Linked DNA regions of Homo sapiens: region 1 is linked to region 2. The links are contacts of gene promoters, found by promoter capture Hi-C in blood cells and fetal thymus (Javierre and others, 2016). All regions are on one chromosome and are shown on one strand. The core of a region is centred on a gene start or on the middle of the fragment in contact, and the rest is flanking DNA. Distances in the headings are between cores, read along the strand shown.

What was found. Contacts are between HindIII fragments. The CHiCAGO score rates a contact against its expected background, and 5 or more counts as called.
Region 1: a contact is called between a fragment that was not itself captured here and the fragment with the promoter of MPC1 in region 2, in 1 of 17 cell types (fetal thymus). The highest score is 6.1, in fetal thymus.

The regions. Positions count from the first base shown.
Region 1 is chr6:166,761,819-166,765,017 of GRCh38, forward strand. It overlaps a transcript of RPS6KA2 not described here. Among named protein-coding and RNA genes, the nearest start is that of RPS6KA2, 140 kb to the left of the region's middle. The HindIII fragment of the contact is 5,905 bases long and covers 1-3,199 here.
Region 2 is chr6:166,381,687-166,384,798 of GRCh38, forward strand. MPC1 (mitochondrial pyruvate carrier 1) reads right to left here and starts at 1,254. Exons shown (of 5, transcript NM_016098.4): 1 at 1,120-1,254. The coding sequence starts at 1,190. MPC1-DT (MPC1 divergent transcript) reads left to right here and starts at 1,492. Exons shown (of 1, transcript NR_189630.1): 1 at 1,492-3,112. RefSeq lists an enhancer at 397-576 and silencers at 937-1,036, 1,187-1,926. The HindIII fragment of the contact is 5,196 bases long and covers 168-3,112 here.

The DNA of each region.
Region 1 (3,199 bases), core at 480-2,979, 380 kb after region 2:
CCATTGGGAATGGAGTGGAAGGGAAGTGTCTCCTCGCATTTGAGGCAGCGTTGAAGGCGCAAGTTATCCCCTGCACCCCAGTCTCATGGCGAGAACAAAGAGCCCAGGGAGGGTAAAGCTCCAGATGGGGCAGCCTCGTCTCCCAGCCCCCTGGACCTCCCAGAAAGTGGCCGAGGATAACCCTGCCTGTGACCTCATGGAAAAGAAGCCTTGCAGACAGGAGTGAGAAGCAGGCTCTATCACGTGGAGGCCCTGGTGTCACCACAGAGGTACATGGTCTGTCCCACCTGGACCAAGACAAGTGGCAGAAACCTTAGGTACTGGTTTCACCAAAAGGAAACTGAGGCCCAAAGAGGCCACACATCCCAGGCACTAGGACAGTGGTGTCCCTGCGTCCTCCCCTCCCTCAGTCTCCCCACATTTTACCACATTCTCCCTCAGACGCAAAACCGAATCATGGCCTCTCTTTACCGCTCAGCCATGTCAGCTCAACCTTAGCACCGTTCAAAGCAATTGGTATGCATGTGTGTGTTCATGCAGTGTGCGTGTGTGTGTTTGTATGTCTATGCGCATATGTGTGTGTGTGTGCATGTTAAACGGAGGACGGAATATGAAGTTCAAATTCCCCCACGGCACCTGGCGTAGTCCCTGGCACATGGAGTGTGTAAAGTCATGTTCTTAAGTGAAAGTATCTTGGGAAACTGGCCTCATTTTCCCTTACGCAGCTGATCTCGAATCACACAGGATCTCGCACTGGGCTGTAAGCCGGCACCAGGGTTACAACCTGCTGTGCACCACGGTCCCTGAGAGACTCAGCCTCACATGAAAGTCCTGTTTGCTCCCAGTTCACAGGTAAATAAATCAACAGCTCCACGGAGAAAGAATAGCACCTTCCCATCCTGTCCACTCCCAGGAAACGACCTTCACTTCTGCCCCGACTTCTGGGAGCCAACAAGGAAAGCGGAGCAAGCCATGACCCTGAGCCTTGCACCACGAGATTTGAGGCCTGTGGGCACCGAGGCTACTGCAGAGCACAGGTGGAAACACAGGTACATAGGTGACTCTCCGTAGGTCAAAGAAACGGTTTCACATGCTTCTGTGATAACAGCTGCAAGCATGAATAAAGTTCAGTTTCCTTTGGAAGGCATTGATGGTTTCAGCAGCTCTCCTCAATGCGTGGATAGCAAAAATATAGCTACTACAAGGTGGGGTCTGTGATTTATTGTTATTACATTTCCAACAGAGTCTTAAGCTAAAAATATTTGGGACCCAGTAACTGAGAAGTCCTAGCAGTAGTATCAGGATCACAGAAGGAACCACATTTCCTGCCTTACAGGTTTGGTTTCCAGACTTAGCTGAAGCCTGTTAGATGGCATTCGCTTAGCATGGAAAAAGCAAAGCCAAGAATAATTTTAAATTCTTTTGGAGTCATTAAAGGGTTACATTAAGAAAATGGAAAAATATTATTTCCACAAAATAAACTGCAAGAGTAAATTATCTTTGATTTCAGCAAATGTCTGCATCATAGAATCACAGTTAAGACCCTAAAGCCACATGGCTCGGTTCAAATCCATGACTCCCCTACTTGGCTGTGTCACCTGGTACAACTTAATTGCCTCCATGCTCTTATCTGTAAAATGGGAGAGAGCGGCAATGAGAGTGACTACTTCATCTGGTTGTTGAGGGTCAAATGAGTTCACATTGCAAGGTGCTTAGAACATACTGAGTATTCTATAACGATTTACCAAAGAAAAGCAAAGCAAAAACAGGAGCAAGGAAGGGAACCTTGGATTTCCTTGGGGGAACAACCTTGGAAACCAAAAGTTAATTAAGAAAGAGCTGTCAATTTCTTTACCTCCTCCCTGTACAGATAAGAGCATTGAGAAAAGGCGTTTCGTAAGTAGTGAGGCACCACACGGATGAACGGCGACGACCTTGTTAGTTCGCTGTTACAGATCAAGTCCCAAGGGCCCCATGATAATAACCAACTGCAAACGATCCCAGCAAAACCAGAGCTGTGCCTGTCCGTGTACCTCGAGAAAGAGGGGTGCACCCAGCAGTCCTTTAAAGATTGTTTTCAGATCCATGACGGCACGGCCGGCCTTGTCTATGTCCGTCACCAAATGCTGAATTGTGTGGCAGACACAACACTGTCCATGACCTGCTGTAAAGCAGCTTCTGTTAGGGTTCTTGTTGTTCGGCTAGAAAGAATGCGAAGTGTTTGGGGAGTTGTGAGCGTGAGGAATTGCCATGTGCGGGGCTTCTGAGTGCCCTGTGCCTTGCATCGCTGCCGGCTCTGAGGACCACGCGGTGCTGGGACTCCACTCCCACTGGGGAGGGCGTGAGTGAGAGGGTGAGAGAAATGAGGCTGAGCCCCAGCTCAGAGCTGGGAAGACCCCTGGGATCGCCCGGCACAGTGTGGTCAGGGTCATTTAAGGCCAGCGACATTTTAGTGATGGGCAGAGGGAAGGACACCAGGGGGCGCGTGAAAAGGAAGACTGTGAGGCGGGAGGAAGAGTGGGAGGCTCTGCCCAGGGTGGCCGAGGAGCAGGGTGCTTCCTAAAGGAAGGTGTCGAGAACGGCAAGCTCTGAGGAGGTGCTGGAACGCGGGGATCAGGTCTAACAACACGGGGCCCGCGCTTCCCTCCTCACAAGGCAGCTCAATGAAGCTGAAGGAGTGAAATCCAGCCACAGTGAGAAGGCGGGCAGGGGTGGTTGCTGGAGGAGGCCATGCCGCAGGCCTAGATGGGGAAGCAGAGTGGGGCAAGGAGCAGGGGGTTGGGAAGGGGTCAGGGTCCCTGTCACTGACCACATTGAGTGTGGCTGCACTTCCCCAGGCACAGCCGGGTGCCCTCACTCTGTGAAAAACAAACCACAAGGAGCCTGCAGCCATGAGCCCGCAACCCCTGACAACGGGAGGAAGACGCGCCACAGGGACTGGGACAGCGGCCACCGCGGTGACACCTACAGCCACGCAAGCACCTGCGTAAACACGTGCTACAGTCACATGTTACGTATTTCACACATTTACACACTACACAACGTGTGTGTGTTCACACACATGTGTATCAACACACATATGCAGGAACGACAAAGCACTTTGGCAGCCTTGACGTTATCTCTACCGAGTTCTGTCCTCTCATCATATGTCCACGGAGGTGGCATGACCTTCCCAACACCAAACGGCCAATGGGGTGAC
Region 2 (3,112 bases), core at 4-2,503:
GTGTATTTTCAGGCTTTCCAACCGCGAATGCTCTTTGTTTCTAACTGGAAAGGAGGAGTTAACAGAAAATAGAACAAGAAGAAAAAGTATGACCTTAGAGACACGTCACTTTACTTTGGTTGACAGAATTTCGTATATAAAAACATCTTAAATTGTACTTCCTCCCAAGCTTAAAGTCCTTAGAATGAGAAAACCGAAAGGCGAACCCAAGGCCAGCACATTTTATTTCCGCTGTCCCAGAAGCGCGCTGGGCGCACCCGAAGCTCCGCTCCAACAGCGCCGCGCCGCGCTCTCAGCAGCGCCTCCCGCTGGCGTCTCCCCACCCCACACCCAGGTCGCCGCCTCTGGCACACCTGGACGGCCGCAGGTGACCGGCGACCCACTCCGAGGATCTGGTAGAAACCGGCCAGGAAACCACTCCCGCCCGGAGGAGCGAGCCACTGTCAACTGGCCCGGAGGGACGTGCCCACTGCCAACCATGGGAGAGGAACGAGCCTCTGTCACCCCTGCCGGGTCACCCTGCCCTGAGGGGCGCCCACTGTCACCCCTGCCGGGAGAGGCGTCCCCATGGTCACCCTGTCCTGAGGAGCGCCGTCGCTTTCGTCCCTCCAGGTCCCCACTGCCACTCTGGCCGGGAAGGGCGTCCACTGTTATGCCTACCAGGAGAGGCGTCCCCAGTGTCACCTTGGCCAGGAGGGACGCCCACCGTCACCCACTCCCTGAAGGGGACTCAATGTCACCCCTGCCTTGAGGGGCGCCCACTGTCACCCTGCCGGGAGAGGACACCCACTGTCACCCCCGCCCTGAGGAGCGCCCACTGTCACCCTGCCGGGAGAGGACACCCACTGTCACCCCCGCCCTGAGGGGCGCCCACTGTCACCCCCGCCCTGAAAGGCGCCCACTGTCACCGGCTCTCTACGCCGTCCGCTTCGGGGTGTGGCGGTCCGGGAGGGATCCGGGTGGGGCCCCCCTGACAAGCGCACCCTCTCGCCTGGGCCCCGGCCCACCCGCTGCCCGGGGCCACCGCGTCCTCGCGGCCGCCCTCGTCGCGGACTGCACGGGTCGCAGCCTCCCGGGAGCCCCTCCGGGTTGCGGGGTTCGGCCTGCGGCGCTCGTCACCTCATGAGGTAGTCCCGGAAATCCTTGCTTCGGACATAGTCCGCCGCTTTCCGCACCAACGCGCCCGCCATGGCTGTGCCGACACCAGACCCCGAGTGGTCCCTGCCTCTGCTGCCGCTTCCCAGAGCCAATGACACCCCGGCCAACCCCCCGGCAGCCGACGGCGAGCCAGCCCGAAGGCCCGCCTCACGACACCCGGCCACGCCTTACGGCCGCGCCGCGCCGCCCGGCTCTCGGCCAATGACAGGGCGCAGGGCCAGAGATGGTGGCGCGGACTGGCTGGCTCGTGCCGCACGCCTCCTTCCCGCCCTCGGTGGCGCACGGGGGCGGGGCCCGCTGCCGTAAAACGGCTGGGGCTGGGCCGGGGCTGGCAGGCGGTTGCTAGGCTCCAGCGGCTCCCGGCCAGCGGGGACGTGGAGGTGACATTTCTCTGACCCACAGGACTGTGGGCGCCCTGCCGAGCGTCGCGCGGTCTTGGGGCGACCTGCAGTGGGGCCCCTGCGGCGCAGCGCGCGGTGGGACTGGCCGGGTTCCCGCGCCGCCCAGGGCCTGTGTCTGCGCCGGTTCCTGGCAAGGGCACCTTGGCCGGGCGGCCCGCGTCCCCTGCGCTTCCCACACCCACGTGGGCGGACCCGGCCCGCAAGCTGGGCCAGCCTGCGGTTTCCGGGCACTGGGGAGTGCGCAGAGCCCCGGGCCAGCGACCGCAGCCGGGGCCCCTGGCTTCTCCCGAGCACTTTCCCCCGGACCGGTCCCTCCAGGGTGGCGGGCGGCACCCAGGGCCGGCGCTCCTCACCAACGCGCTGCAGCTACGGGCTCAGGAGGGAGCCGCAGCGTCGGAGGAGGAAAGCATTTAAGAATAGCACAAAGCCTTAGGCTCGAGGAAGCGTGACTGCTTACGTGTTGAAAATAAAGGTTCTGTAAGTCCCACCGCGGGTGCATATTGAAAAGAAAGGGATCATTAGCACGCGACCCTCGCCTAGGAGTATATAAACCGCAGCACGACTTTCGGATCACAAAGGCAGAGAAAAGAACACATTGAAGGCTTTTGCTCACTTTTCCAAGTTGTTTCGTTTCGTTTTGTTTCTAATGTGGACGATCATTTAAAATGCCTCTGGTGGCCGGGCGCGGTGACTGACGCCTGTAATCACAGCACTTTGGGAGGCCGAGGCGGGCGGATCACCTGAGGTCAGGAATTCGAGACCAGCCTGGGCAATACGGTTAAACCCCCTCTCTACTAAAAATAAAAAAATTAGCTGGGCGTGGTGGCATGTGCTTGTAGTCCCAGCTACTTGGGAGGCTGAGACAGAAGAATCGCTTGAACCCGGGAGGCGGAAGTTGCAATGAGCCAAGATTGCGCCATTGCATTCCAGCCTGGGCAACAGAGCAAGACCCTGTCTCCAAAAAAAACAAATAAATATAACAAAATTCCTCTGGTAGCCGGGTGCGGTGGCTCACGCCTGTAATCTCAGCACTTTGGGAGGCTGAGGCAGGTGGATCACTTGAAGTCAAGAGTTTGAGACCAGCCTGGCCAATATAGTGAAACCTCATCTCTACTGAAAATACAAAAATTAGCCAGGCGTGGTGATGCGCTCCTGTGATCCCAGCTACTCGGGAGGCTGAGGCGTGAGAATCGGTTGAACCCGGGAGGTGGAGGTTGTAGTGATCCGAGATTGTGCCATTGCACTCCAGCCTGGGCAACAGAGGGAGATCCTGTCTCTAAAATAAAAAATAAAAGAAATGCCTTTGGTGAACAGGAATTCTCAACATTAGTGACCCGCAGTGTATTAGTGTTAATAATGGACATCCCCTTTGATCCAGCAAGCCCATCTAGAGATTTCCTAGGATAGACAAGCCAGTTTGTGCAATTTCATGTGTACAGCATTGTTTTTAGTATGGAAAGATTAGAGTTTACATATCTACCCATAGGGAGAGAGTTAAATAAATTATGGTGCATCCGTTTAGTGGATTAGTATACAGCCATTAGGAATAAAGG